4 separate regions of the Homo sapiens genome follow, and all the other regions are linked to region 4. Evidence: promoter capture Hi-C in 16 types of primary human blood cells and fetal thymus (Javierre and others, 2016). All regions are on one chromosome and are shown on one strand. Each heading gives the region's core, a stretch centred on a gene start or on the middle of the fragment in contact. The rest is flanking DNA. Distances are from core to core; before and after follow the strand shown.

Region 1 (3,690 bases), core at 1,001-3,500, 340 kb before region 4:
CTGGGGTCGGGAGTTTGAGACCAGCCTGACCAACATGGAGAAACTCCGTCTCTACTAAAAATACAAAATTAGCCGGGCATGGTGGCACATGCCTGTAATCCCAGCTACTCGGGAGGCTGAGGCAGGAGAATTGCTTGAACATAGGAGGCGGAGGTTGTAGTGAGCCGAGATCACGCCATTGCACTCCAGCCTGGGCAACAAGAGCGAAACTCCAGCCTGGGCAACAAGAGCGAAACTCCGCTCAAAAAAACAAAACAAAACAAAACAAAAAACACAAAAAACTTTTAAAAAAATTGTAGCTTACTGTGTGTGCCAGGCACCAAATAGAGGCTTTACATACATTATTTCATTTAATCCTCACAGCCACTCTGAGGTAAGCGTTATTATCTTCATTTTAAAGATGAAACTGAGGGTCAGAGAGGTTAAACTACTTGCCAAAGTCAATAAGTAGGCAGTTAAGCACAGAAATGTATTCAGGCAGGCGGCAGAACTCGGGCTCTTAACGATTCTGCTATCCTATATGAAACACAAGCTTTTTAATATGCAACTTAGATTTTATTAACTTTCACAAAATATTCTTGAGGAACTTCCATTAGAAATTACTAGACATCAAGGGTTTAATTTAAGGCAAATCAGTCACCTTTTAATCAACAAAATCAGTCATTAAAAAACTCCAAGTGCCATGAACTAAGTGACAAAAAATAAGTTACAAATTAATAAGTTATAAGTTATAGGTAAATAAAAGTTATAAATTAGTAAGTTATAAGTAAGTTCATTAAATAAATGGCACCCAGTCATCAAGTATGGACACAAGGACAAACAGTTCTTTTGGAGTATGTATTAACTAGGGCCCTGTGTTGCAAAGTACTTACATTAGCACTGTCATCACCATAAGTCAAACATAACGCACACTGTCTATTGTCTTCTATGCCTGGGGGTGGGTTCAGCTCTGGACTGTCTTCTCGACTCCTATCAGTACCTTGAAATCCAAAAGACTCCCATCAATACCTTGAGATCCAGTTAAAATTGGCAATACTATGTCTGATTTCAAGGAAAAAAGAAATAATTCAGCTTACATAGCCCACAGCCTATAAAATAACCACTTTTCAAAAAGTGTTCAGAGTTACGCTACCTCATCATCTATGTTACAATACTCCAGAGTATTTATATCAAGTCCTCATTAACACCTCAAGTGAAGCAAAATTAATGATGGTATTACATTTAAGGATGACCTGAAAATTCCTTTCTGATATCCAAGTATATCTAATTTTAGTGAATTGGATTCACGAAGTCAATCATCTGCATCTAGAGGGAAATGGGTGACGACTCTCCTTTTGGTGGCTTACTCAAAATTGGTGGTGTAGGAGGATGCAGAGGAGTTGGTGAGTCTGGTTCTCCAGGACCTTTGGGTTTGGGAGCTGGAATGATTTTCTTCATTAAAGGAGGCTGCTCAGTGTGGCTGTTTTCCTCTCGCTCCTGCCACTGAGCATAATTATGGTCAAGTGAAGGTGGAAGCACTGCGTTTGGTAACATCCCACTGCTGAAAATAATTGATTCAACAAGCATTTATTGAACTCCTACAGTATACCTAGAACTGTATAAAATAAATTCTTGATATCACCTGTTGCCCCATGTAGGAGCCATTCACAGAATATAAGAACAAGTCACAGCGTTTGAAAATTGCTGAAGTACACAGAACTCAATATTTTAAAAAATATCTCAACATATGACTCTTGGTTAAACTTGCTGAAACAAATGATAACCCTATCAAAAACTCAAAAGAGGCCGGGCATGGTGGCTCATGCCTGTAATCCCAGCACTTTTGGGAGGGTGAGGCAGGCGGATCACCAGGTCAAGAGATCAAGACCATCCTGGCCAAAATGGTGAAACCCAGTCTCTATTAAAATACAAAAATTAGCTGGGCATGGTGGTGCCCGCCTGTTTTCCCAGCTACTTGGGAGGCTGAGGGAGGAGAATCGCTTGAACCAGGGAGGCGGAGGTTGTAGTGAGCCGAGATCATGTCACTGCACTCCAGCCTGGTGACAGAACGAGACTCCGTCTCAAAAAAAAAAAAATAAATAAATAAATAAAATCAAATCAAAAGAATTTACTGGAATAAAAATTAAAGGTTACATATGGAAAATCAAGAGCAGTACAAAGCACCATTTGAACTATCAGTCAAACAGAACCCATTTATAACAAGGCCAGCTACATGGCTGTACCACACATGTATTGTACATTTGTCACAATTAAACCAAGCTCCCTACAATAAAACAAATATAAAAGTAAAGAACAAAAAGGCAATTGCTTATAACAAACATTAAATGTAGTCCTCAAAACCACACCGAAAAGGCATTTCAACCAATTCATTTCTAGTATTAAAACCTTTTGGAAAACTGCAATCTAGAAATATGAGAACTCTCAGATTTCTAGCCGATGAGGAGAAAAAAAAGTTATGCTAAATTCACTTACTTGCTTGATACTTTATTTGGCTCCCAAAACCTGGACTTTTTGACACTGAACCATGGAAAAACACGTTCCATTTGCTAAAAGAAAACACAAACAAAATGTAAATATGTAAACACTCATTTAGATACCACATGAAAAATCTTCAAACCAGCTTCTCTGTTAATACGAGGATAATTTCAGGCCACCAAGAGAAAGATCCATCCACTCTGGCAACCTCACCAAGTTCCTCTCAAAGAATCAGGGGATCAAATTAAACCAAAGATGTTTTATACACACCACAAAGCAAAAAGTAGAAGAGAACAAGTTCATTGTATTCACAGGGTAATTACTTATAGGTAAGCATTAAAAACATGAATTAGTAATATCATTCACCCGAATGAAGAAGGACTTGACCATGCTGTTGGCTTTTTTAATTTCTGGCTGTCCTCCATCTGAATTAATGGCTGCTTGAATGATCTTCACAATATCATCACTGAACTCCAACTGTATACAAAAACAAAATGTTAATTATTCTTAAAACAGTGTGCTCTGAAAACCATTTCCTCTTCCCTCCTTAATCATCCAGCACAGAGATCCAACAGAAAACTCACACCCTATTTTAATGTGGTATAATACTCTTTGGCTGAGACCTTTGAGATTCAATTCACGATTAACCTGTGGCAATTAAGAGATGCCAGGCTAATGAGGTAAGAATGCAAACAAATTGGCTGTATCATGATAAATTATCCAAGCAGGTCCACAGTTTTTATTTTGGATTAAAATAAATAAACAGTGGCTCACGCCTGTAATCCCAGCACTTTGGGAGGCTGATGTGGGTGGATCACTTAAGGTCAGGAGTTCATGACCAGCCTAGCCAACATGGTGAAACCCAATCTCCGCCAAAAATACAAAATTAGCCAGGCATGGTGGCACATGCTTATGTAATCCCAGCTACTTGGGAGGCTGAGGCAGGAGAATCACTTGATTACGGGAGGCAGAGGTTGCAGTGAGCCGAGATCATGTCACTGCATGCCAGCCTGGGTAACAGAGCGAGACTCCATCTCAAATAAATAAATAAATAAATAAAAATAAACAACAGAATCGCAAATATAGATCATGAGATAATAAATAATCATTTCCTATACATACTTAAAATCATAAAATTAACAGGCATCTATCTACAAATGAAGACCTTATAAAGAAAGGCACATTATTCAGATCTGATCTCAAAAGGGGAGGGAG
Region 2 (3,500 bases), core at 30-2,529, 350 kb after region 4:
GATGGTATTTTAGATGTATGTGTATATATTTGAAGCCAAAACTGTTTATTTTGTGTAATTTTTTGTGCCTATTAGTTTCTGAATATCTGTGCATAAAAGCTTCTGTTTCTCTGCCTGCACACATTTGTGGGTACACACTATACACCTATGTGGGGTAGGAGGGGGGAATGGGCATATTTGTTTGCATTTACCTTGTGTTTGGTCCTAGGAAGGGATCTTGGTGATCATTCCAGCCCAGCTCTTTCACCTCAATGGTGAAGAAACTGAGGTCCAGAAAGGCAAGGTGACTTGTCACAGGTAACACAGCTGGCTATGGAGACAGAGGTGACACAAGAACCTAGGATTTCTGATTTGTAGATGAGAACTCTTTCTATAATATTAAAATCAATTATAAATTTTGGGGAGGGAAGCAGGGAGATCCTTGTTTTTTCCTCCCCCAACTGATAAGTAAGTACTAAGAAGGTCAATCTTGAATTAGCTATATAATACCAAAAGTTAAGTTTTTCACACAGACCTGGTTCAGTATTGATTCCTTTTATGAAAACCCTGTTTATACTCAAGTTGTCAAAGAATTCCAGAGGGCATATGAAGCCATTGTTAAAATAATTTTATGCCTTTGTTTTTGAAGAAAAGTATCCAAAATATATAAGCTTATTGTTTGAGTTAAACAATAAAAACATCTGCTGTTTCTCAGGATGGCTCTAGTCTTAATATAACATGGCAAAATAATACCCCCTAAATATCCATGATTAACCTGAATTGGAGAGGGCTCAGCTCCCAGTGACTTCATATAGCTGCTTCAACTGGCATTGTTTAAAAAAAACAAAAACAAAAGCACAAAAGCCAAAATACAGACAGATCATCACCCAGCATTCTGATGCAAGAAAATATTAAAACTGATCACTGCTTTTAAATGGGTAGTGTGTCCCTACTAGAAAGGAATCCCACAAATTTGAGGCTTAAAAAAATGGAGCATATGCATAGGTGCCAATGCAGAATTTCTGGATTGGGTTCAAATCACATTGAAGCACAGGTGTGCCTGTCATTAGGTGTTTATGTTTACCTGTACACATGAATGTTTGCCTGGGCAACTGTGTTTGTTCTCACTCTGGCATGAATATATTTGTGTGTGGGTGTGAAGTTTTCCATATAATTTTGGGAACTGTCCCTTCTATCAAAATATAGCCCCTCTAAAATGTCAGCTGGGGAGGGGACTGTCAGGGTTTAAGGTGGGCGTGGGGTAGAACACGCCGCCTGACTCTCTTCCCCGGCGTTTCATTTTTCCCTTGGGATTTCCTGGCATGCTGGCTTGCCCACCCCAATACAACTCCTGTCGAAGAGGAGACTTCTAAATACATCTGAGCCAACCTGTCATTTTCAAAGACATTTCCCTAGATACTAAGGAAGAACAAAATCAATGGGAAACACAAAAAGCATGAGGCCTGACCTGCCTGTTTTTCAGGTCCTTCTTTTGTTAGCCATCTCTCCAGGCTCTTCCGCCTCAGTGTGCACCTTCCGTGTTTCTGCAGCCCCTTTCCTGGATTCCCAGCTCCTTGGCTCTGGCTTTGTCACAGCATGGAAGGCACAATATCGTCCCAGCATTCCCCCAGTGGAGCTGTTCCCTCCTCCCAGTTCCCACAGGTCAAGGTCCTTGTGAGCAAAGCTGTTCCCATTCATGGTAGTTACCTGTGCTCACTATGCGTCAGCCATGGGGCTTGTCTTATTTAATCCTCGCTACGACTTTCCAAGGCAGATGCTGGGGATGTCCCCATTCCACTGGTAAGGAAACTGCAGCTTGGCACACATACATTTCCCAGGCACACAGCTGGCAAGTGGCAGAGCTGGGCTGAGGACTCATCTCCTGCTGTTTCCAAAGCCAGGCTCTTAACCATGACATTAGAAAGCTTCCTTTTGCCAGAGGGGGTCCCCAGGTCTGCTCTCCCCAACTGACCACCCGTTTATTTCCACGTATATGTCTCCTCCCGGGACAGCCAGACTGCAGTCACCGGCACAATGAATGACCTCGCCCTTCGGGTAACACACATGTTGTGGTTCTTTAAAGCCCCCTGTGTATAACTAGCATAAAGCCTCCTACACTCAGGTTGTAGGAGGTACTTGGGGTGGATGCAAAGAAGAGGGTCCACCGCTACTTCCAGCGTGTGAGGCACGGAGCAGCTGTGCCGCTACCCCAGGCCCACTCAGATCCCCTCCCAGCAGACAGCAGCCCCTTTCATCCTGTCTGCCTTAGCGGTTTATTTTAGGCATGACCTGACCAGGTGCTCTGGGTCAATAGGCTTAGTTTTAAATAACTGGATTCCTCTCAATGACCGTTCCCTTTAGAAGGGAGGGGGCATGGTAGAAGAATAAGCCAGCAGGCTGAGGGCGGTGAGAGATGGGAGCTAAGACAGAAGACTGGAAACGTGAGGGCTCTGTCACTCCCTGCGTGACCTCGGGGAAGGCTCATGGCTTCCCCACTCTGGGCCTCAGTTTCCTTATCTGTAAAGCAAAAGATCGGTCTGGGTCATCTCAAACACCCCCTGCAGTCTGTCCCCCCGTCTCTGTTCTATGCCTGTGTTTCCAGATGACAAAACACCTCCTGCAAATTGTTTCAGGGTGGTGATTTTGCATGAAGAGCTGAGCCACCGAGGGATGCTGCAGCTTATAGAGCAAGCTCTGCTCTGGAGTCGGGAGGCCTGGGTTCTAGTCTTGCTTCTGATACAACCTTGGTGGCCTTGAACAAGTTAAGCCCCGATTTTCTCACCCGTTTAAAGGACGAACCTTGAAAACATTATGCTGAGTGAAGTAAGCCAAGCACAAAAGGATACATACTTTATGATCTCACTTATGAGGTACCTAGAATAAGCAACTTCATAGAGACAAAGTAGAATAGTGGTTGCCAGGAGCTGGGGGAGGGGAGGGGAAGGGGGAGTTATTATTTAATGGGTGCAGGATTCTGTTTGGGATGATGAAAAAGTTTTGGAAATGGTAAGTGATGATGGTTGCACATCGTGAATGTATTTAATGCCACAGAATAGTACACTTCAAATGGTTGAAATGGTAAATTTTATGTTATGTACATTTTAACATATTAAAAAACACACTTTTCAAAATTTAGTTAAAATTTCTAGGGATATTTTGGCAAAACCTGGGAGTGAGGAGTCCCAATTCTCCCATGTGAACTTAGGCCGCACATTTCGAGGAAGTAAATTTTCTTCCTCTGGCAAATGCAGCTAGCCAGTGGACCCCTTCTCTCCCTCCAAACTTCGCACTCCACACCTTAGAGTCTGCCCAGGTACAGCCCAATTGTCAGGGCATACTCAAAGCAGCTTCCATGACCCTGCAAAGGGAGCTACAGTCCTGGCTCATAGGCCATTCTCAGGGATACCTGGATCCCTTCTCTGGGTTCTATGTATCCTCTTATTTTGGAATTAAGACGAAAGGAGGGCTTTCCAACCATATTGACCTTTTACAGCAGACCTGGCTCAGCCATGCCTGAGTCC
Region 3 (3,360 bases), core at 1-2,500, 370 kb before region 4:
AGGCAGATGGCTTGGCCAAACCTCTCCAGGGCTGTGCTGAGGTCCCCAGCCTCTGCTGCCATCACCCCCTGCAGCTCCAGGGCCTTGGACTGTTCCAGCTGTGCTTGAGGGAAAACTTCATCTGGGCCAGGGAAGGAGCCAGGAGAAGCCAGGTGTGCAGTTGGTAGCAAGAAGAAAAAGCCACCTCAGGCTTTGGAATTCTGAGATCTGAGCCAGAGCTGACTGGGTATGGGTCACAGCAGGGGTCAGTTGCAGTGTTTGGGGTAGGGGGAGATGAGGTCACTAAGGCTGGGAGCTAGCATTGCCTGAGTTCCAAGAGACCTGGGAAGGGGCCTTGGTTGGTTCCCCATTGCCAAGAGAATGAAGCCCAGACTCCTCAATCTGTTAAAGAAGTTGCTCAAGTTCTTTGTGTATGGCCTCAACAGGCCATACGTTGCAGAGCTTGGATTTGAACCCAGGTCATTCTGGCTCCTGTCTGCATTTTACTCTACTACACCGCCTCTTATGCAAAGGCCACCATGACATTCCCAGATCATGAACATCACTTCTGACGTATCCCTCTGTGTTTCGGCCTGAGTTAGTAAGGTGTAGGCTTTACTCCTCTAGAAACAAAGGATCAAAAACTCCTTCATTAGGGATTAATGGAAAAGCCAGTGAACGCACTCACTGCGGAAGAGTTAGTTTGGAGCTTGGCTTGTGACAGTGTTTAACGGTTACTGGTTGTGCTTGCTATATTGGAACCACTCAACTGAGCAACCATGCCCTGCCTTATTTCAGTCTTCTGTTCTGGTGGTGGTATTCTCTGTTATGACAAAAATGTGAGAGTTTAACATCACCTGGCAGTTAAGCTTGGATCATACAGTCAATTAAGTGGTAAGTTCAGAGGCATGAGAGCTGATGGATCGAGAGACAAACCCCAGCTTACTCCTCTTGGCAGGACATCTCTTACCAAACCCCCATCAGTGCGCTAAGGAGCAGCCAACCTCTCTGATTCCAATCTCAATCATAATCATGGAACAAGGGGCCTTATAAAACCACCTCCCTCTCTGCTACCTCGGGAGGCCAGCAGGCCAGCCTATGTGCAGAGCTACACTCCAGATCAAATGCCCACCTTCTTCTCGTTCTTCCTTTTCTGCTTCCTCTCCGAGGTCCAATCCAACAATGTCTCCAAATGGGGTGTCAGGGTTGAAGATGGCCTGCAGCACTGCCTGATCATTTGGAGTCCCCATGGTGCTCAACTCCAAAATCCCAAAAGGTGACTCCAGATGAGAGAAGAGGGAGGGACGTGGTGAGGGTGGAGCCTCCAGCAGGAAGTTGATCTGAAAGGATGAGGACCACCCCTTCGTGAGGAGTGTCTCCCTGTCCATGGCTGTAGCATTTGCTCAACCTGTGGCCTGGAGGGTTGACCCTGGCTTGGCAGACTACTTGGTTATTTCTCAACTGCCCCTGCCCCCAGGAGAAACAGTAAACAAATCCAGCTTCAGCCTTAAGGTGGAGTGCAGCTAGAGAAGGTGTTCTCCAGCTTCTCCCTGAAATGCTTTCAGTTTATTATATTCACAGTTGAGAAAACCGATAAAAATCAATACTTAACCTCCTTGGATGAAACAGGGGAGCTATGTAGAAGGTAAAGGCCCTGTTCCTTTGTCCTCTTGACCCTGCCTCATATCCACAATTAATTAGGTCCTGAACATACATCACTGATGAATAAAGGAAGAAAATAGTCAAGAGAGCCAGTGTGGAGTGGACCTGAAGGTGGGCTACAGGGAATAATTTAGTGATGCCACCTTAAAGTAAAGGACTGTGGAAGGTACTTTGTGACCAGGTCACAGGCCATGCCCCTCCCGCTTTTCTCCACCCTCTCCAACCAAAGCCAAAAGGAAGCTTAACCATGTGCAGCAATAAACTTGACATGTTTATTAATTAAACTATCACTTAAATAAAAAAAAGTGCATAGAAAATAAACATGTTTAAAAACTCCTTTTTTTTACAACTATGTACACTTTTTACTTTTACATTCAGTCTTTCGTAGAGAGCTTTCAGCATTATTATTTTTTGAACTATTAAAGTATTTTCCTTCATCCCTGTCACAGGGAGTTAACACTGATGGACTTTAGACACATTTTCCTTTTTTTTTTTTCTCTTTTTCTCTAACCAGAAGCTTGGAAGAACACAAGGAAAAAAAACAGATCTGTTATACATGATAAAGTTGTCAAAAAATGTCTTATTTCTAGAAAAGAAGCTTGTCATCTGTTGAGCTCTTGAAACAATTATTCAACTACCTGTATTTACTAAAGAGACTGTTAAAAGTTCAATAAAAGAAACACCACAATTCTATTTTCTTGGTTGAAAGACAGAACTAGAGTACCTCGGAACAAGATACCAGGAAAGCACAGAACACAATTTTCCCCTAAATGCAGGTGGTAACCCCAACATTCATAACCAAAAATAGAGAAACAAGGAGGACAGGTACTGACTGGCAACATTCATGGGCAGAAAAAAATCCAGGTGACACCATGTCTGCATTTTTCTCTGATCCGAGGAATGGACTGTTCTACCATTCCTTTATGGTTAGAGGTTCCCCCCATTTCGGGAATCAGAGGAAAGTGAGCCTGACATCTTCCTGCCGCTACTAGCAACTGTAACACAATCCTTATCTATAGTGTTAAGAGAATTAAAAGCCATGGACTGAACTAGGCTTTGTTACATGGTGCATTACTATATTAGTTCCTATATATATCATATTTATATTTATTTGAAAACCAAAACAAACAAAAAGTTGCAAGTTTCCAGAGTGTGTGACTTGACTAGTATTCATGATTCGGCACAAAACCATCTGCTCCATAACCTTGTATTGCTTTAAAATGAAGGAAATGAAACATAAAATTACACCCAGCCCTTTGCAATGACCCGCTTTTCCTTAAAAACAAAAACAACTTGATTTCTATTAAAAAAAAAAAATCCCAAACCGAACTTAGAAGTTAACATCTGACAAGGTTTTGACCTTTAGTATTTTCAGATATTTGATTGAACGTCAGTCCTTTAGAAAGATACATTCATTAGAATATTTTTTTTATTTTTGTGTGTGTGTTGTATTTTTTTTTCCTTTTTTTTTTATTTTTTATTTTTTTTAAATCAAGGGAGCTACATGGTGCTCACTGCATTGGCCGGGGGTTTGACGGAGGCGAGCAGGGTGGCGGGCTGGGTCCCGGCAAAGGAGTCTGGTTGAAAACGTATAGCTGCCAGGGCTTCCCCCTTAATTCTTGTTATTGGTGTAAAAACAGAGGGGCTGTGCGAGAGGTGGTGGGTGGCCAAGGAGGGAGCCAAGAGACCAAGTTCCGGCCAAAGGGTCAGCGCCATGCA
Region 4 (3,631 bases), core at 227-2,726:
TTGCATTCACCATTTTATAGGTGAGGAGCAGAGGCTCCCCCAGAAGACCATGTAACTTGCTCAAAGCCATACAGTCATAAATGGTGGCGCTGCCAGAGCCTCTGTGCCACTATAGGGAAGGCAGCGACCCTCTCTCCTGAAAAAGCAAACAGACATTCAGCACTTTGCCTGCAACCTCAAGGGGTCCGTGATCACGCCGAAGTCCACCCAGAGACCCCTCGTTAAGAAGGCGGTGCGTTGGTGTGCCTGCAGCAGAAGTCAGACCATGAAGTGGGAGCGGGCTTCCCAGTCCGGACCAGTCCTAGACAGTAAAGAGGGCCTGTGATGCAGGGAGGGTCTTGGATGGTTGGAAAGGTGCTGAGGAGGAGATCGACTCATTTACAGAACCACCAGCCCAAGTAGCACCGCTCAGGTGAAACTCTTTCACTTGGGCCTGTCTGGGAAAAGGCTTACTCGTTCACAGCCTCGCCTCAGCCCTCTGACCTGGTTGTCACCCTGGACTCCTCCACCCCTACCCCAAAAGGGAGGCCGAGGGAGTCTGCCGTTCCGAAGAAAACAGGAGAGTTGGAGGAGGGCGAAAAGGCAGCATCTGAGGGGGACGGCCTAGGTAGGAAAAATGAGAAGCAGGGGTGCAGCGGGAGGGTGAAATGGGGCGCAGGACACAGACCAGGCGCGGACCAACCTGCTCCCTAACCTGGAGCGTGGTGATTTCCAAGGGGTCCATGGAGAAATGTGGGGCGGGGTGGCGTGGGGGTGGGGGAAGGGAGGGCCGGGGCAGTTTGCAATGGGAAAGCTCTGTTCCGGGCTTCCTAAAACAACCGCCGGAGTTGCTGAGCGATGGGGCAGAAGGTGGCGGGAGCGGGTCCCGAGGCTGCACGCGCGCCATGTCGCACGCCACCGAGGAGGCGCAAGCTGCAGTGGGCAAGCCCGCACACGCCCACCCGTTGCGGCAGCGTCCGCTGCGGACTTTAAAGCGGTCCCTTGGCGGTCCTGGGAGAGGGAGCCGCTAACCTTCCCGTGTTCCCCCAAGCAAAGCAAAACAGTCTTCCAGCAACCGAAAAGCTCCACCTCTACTCCCCCCGAACTATGCTCCTAATTGGCAGCTCAGCGCATGGGATGATGCGGGTGGCTGCAGGCCGGCCCTGCAGTGCCAGCCGCAGCAGCCCAGCCCCACTGGAGAGGGAGTTGGGGGCACGGCGTGGTCCCGGGGCTCCGGGACCGCGAGGCGGGGTGCGGCAGGCAGGGTGCGCAGCGGGCGGGGGCTCCCCGGCCTACGCGGCGGCCACCGCCCCTCCTGCGGCTGGAGCGCTTCCAGAGCAGAGGCGCAGCCTCGCTCGCCGCTGCGCTCGCTCCGTCTTCCTCCCGCTCCTGCTCCGGCTCCTCCTACTCCTTCCCTCCCGCCGTTGCTCCAGCAGCCGGCTCCCAGCAGCGGGCGAGCGCGCCTCCCCCTCCGCTCCCTCCCTCCCCCTCCTCTCGCTCTCTGCCCGCTAACTTTCCCGAGCCCCGACCGGCGGCGCAGAGCTCCGGGGTAGCTTTGTGGCCGAACGCCGACCTCGGGCGGAGAGCGCGGCTGTGCCCAGTATCCCATCCCCGCGACCCCCGCGCGCTCCGGAGAGAACAGGACTATGCCCGGGGCTGGGGACGGAGGCAAAGCCCCGGCGAGATGGCTGGGCACTGGGCTTTTGGGTAAGGCAGCCCCAGCTTGGTCTCTTCTCTTGCCTCCCCCCACCCCCAAAGAAGGGGACACTCGAGAAGGAAGATGCCTTGGATGGGGTGGGCTTTGGAGTGCGGCACGGAATGAGGATGGTGGCCGCCGGCTTCCTGCCTGGTTCCTGCCTGGTTCATAGGCTGTGCTCCCTGGGGACCGTGTGCGTCCCTCTCTACCCCATCAGCCCGCCAGTCTCAGGATTAGTTTTTTTGCTGTCCTTGGCACCTTCGGCTCCAGGTATTTGGAGCTGGATCTTGGGGCTGCAGCGCGGGTCTCCAGAGTTCAGAGGTTCAGGATGCTGGAGGAGGGGGGTCCGTGCCTTGAGTGCAGGGGATACCAGGTGGGTTGCACGTGTGACTGTTGGAATGGTGGTTTCCATCCCGGCCCAGAGCCGTTTGCTTGTTTCCCAGGCACCAGGCATGCACCAGTTGGGGGTGGGGGAGTCCCCTTCTTCCTGGGCCCTTTTCCTGCTTTGCTCCTCTGCCCTGTACCTCCCTCAGGAGCCACTGCCTTCCCTACAGCAGCACCTGAAAGCTGGAAGGGGCTGGAGGGGCTTGCGGGATCATTCAAGGCCCTTTAGGAACGGCCTTGTCTCTCTTCCTACAAAGAGATTCCGTAGGGAAGACCTGTTTGACCTGCTCCTGGCTCTTCATTTTTGAAGTGAATATGGAGACAGAGAAGACATGTCCAGAGGACACGGAGGAAGAAGCATTATTAATATCTATTAATATGCACATGAGAGTTTTGAGTGTCAAACTCCAAGAGATTAGGGAATGATATTTATTCATCCAGGATGTAATCTCCTCATAAATCATAGCCAGACTTTAATGTAAGCCGACTCCATCTCTGGCAACGGCATCTCTTCCTGTTTATATTGGTCAGATTTGGCTTTTGGCAGCTCCCTGCATTGGGTAAGACACACGGTGTAGGTATTTCTGCTGAAAACAGGGAGACAGAACCCTATAAGGGAAGTGGCTACTGTTTCTGCGAATGTAAACTGTGTGCAGATCTAGCAGGTTGGTGCCTGGTGGTGAAGAGGGGAGAGAGTATTTCTTGTACTTGGGATGTTTATTTACCTCTGTACCGCTAGATGGAAGACACCCTTGTTTTCTCCTGTACCTTGGCACAGATGTCATGCTGGTTTCACAGTGACCTTAATGAAGTGGGCCTTAGTGACGCCTGAGGCTCCTTTTCACAGGGTGGGCACAGCGCCATTCCATGCTACTTCCCCTCATCCCATCTCAGATCAGCCCAGGTCCCCATGGTGGCAATGGCAGGGGTAAAGGATCACTGAGGAATTCAAACTCAGCCAGTCATTAAACTACCCCACTTCACACCTCTGGCTTACCTTCCTGGGTGGTGGGATGCCAGTCCCTTGTTTGTTAGAATACTCATAGAACCAGGCCTCTGTGGGCAACCAAGAGGGCCCTGAAAATGATGTGTGTGTGTGTGTGTGTGTGTGTGTGTGCACGTGTGTAAGGGGGATTGTAGGCACAGTCTTGGTACATTGCTCCAGGTGGAAGCCCCACCTTCTCCAAGGACTGTTCAGCTGTATAGACCAGGTAGGGGCTAAGGCCTATTGATATAGGTTTAGATGAATTTCTGAGCTACCCTTTGGGAGCCCAGGAGAAAGCAGAGTGACTTGTAGGTGGGAGACCTGCAGGCCCCAGGACTGGCCTCATCTGCTCTGTCCCCTGCCCCTCTGGTCTGCAGAGGGACTCCAACCAAAGTCCCTTTGGCCCTTGACCAGGTAATACTGACTGAGCCCTCACAGGGGCATTGGTCTGAGCTTGGGACATAGATGACATCCTTGCTTCTCAGTCCAGTGGGGGAGATACAGAGACGACTGGACAGCCAACTGGAGGTGTTCCCTGGGAACATCAGAGTTGGCAGCAACTCTGGGAAGCAGAGCACAGAACTCTC

What was found. The method cuts DNA at HindIII sites, captures the fragments that hold promoters and counts their contacts. A CHiCAGO score of 5 or more calls a contact.
Region 1: a contact is called between a fragment that was not itself captured here and the fragment with the promoter of SCN4B in region 4, in 5 of 17 cell types (neutrophils, total CD4 T cells, activated CD4 T cells and 2 more). The highest score is 8.3, in neutrophils.
Region 2: a fragment that was not itself captured here is called in contact with the fragment with the promoter of SCN4B in region 4 in 1 of 17 cell types (naive B cells); the score reaches 5.1 in naive B cells.
Region 3: the fragment with the promoter of TTC36 here is called in contact with the fragment with the promoter of SCN4B in region 4 in 8 of 17 cell types (neutrophils, naive CD8 T cells, M1 macrophages and 5 more); the score reaches 7.2 in neutrophils.

What each region holds. Positions count from the first base shown.
Region 1 is chr11:118,493,550-118,497,239 of GRCh38, reverse strand. It overlaps KMT2A (lysine methyltransferase 2A), which reads right to left. Exons shown (of 36, transcript NM_001197104.2): 17 at 2,842-2,952; 18 at 2,473-2,546; 19 at 1,347-1,540; 20 at 873-979. Among named protein-coding and RNA genes, the nearest start is that of TTC36, 32 kb to the left of the region's middle. The HindIII fragment of the contact is 3,432 bases long and covers 535-3,690 here.
Region 2 is chr11:117,798,035-117,801,534 of GRCh38, reverse strand. It overlaps a transcript of DSCAML1 not described here. Among named protein-coding and RNA genes, the nearest start is that of DSCAML1, 2.6 kb to the right of the region's middle. The HindIII fragment of the contact is 1,254 bases long and covers 653-1,906 here.
Region 3 is chr11:118,525,364-118,528,723 of GRCh38, reverse strand. It overlaps TTC36 (tetratricopeptide repeat domain 36), which reads right to left and starts at 1,250. Exons shown (of 3, transcript NM_001080441.4): 1 at 1,112-1,250; 2 at 1-121. The coding sequence starts at 1,229. It overlaps KMT2A (lysine methyltransferase 2A), which reads right to left. Exons shown (of 36, transcript NM_001197104.2): 36 at 1,892-3,360. The region is part of intron 1 of TTC36-AS1 (TTC36 and KMT2A antisense RNA 1); the gene reads left to right. The HindIII fragment of the contact is 1,033 bases long and covers 851-1,883 here.
Region 4 is chr11:118,150,668-118,154,298 of GRCh38, reverse strand. It overlaps SCN4B (sodium voltage-gated channel beta subunit 4), which reads left to right and starts at 1,476. Exons shown (of 5, transcript NM_174934.4): 1 at 1,476-1,686. The coding sequence starts at 1,626. RefSeq lists an enhancer at 358-858. The HindIII fragment of the contact is 14,636 bases long and covers 1-3,631 here.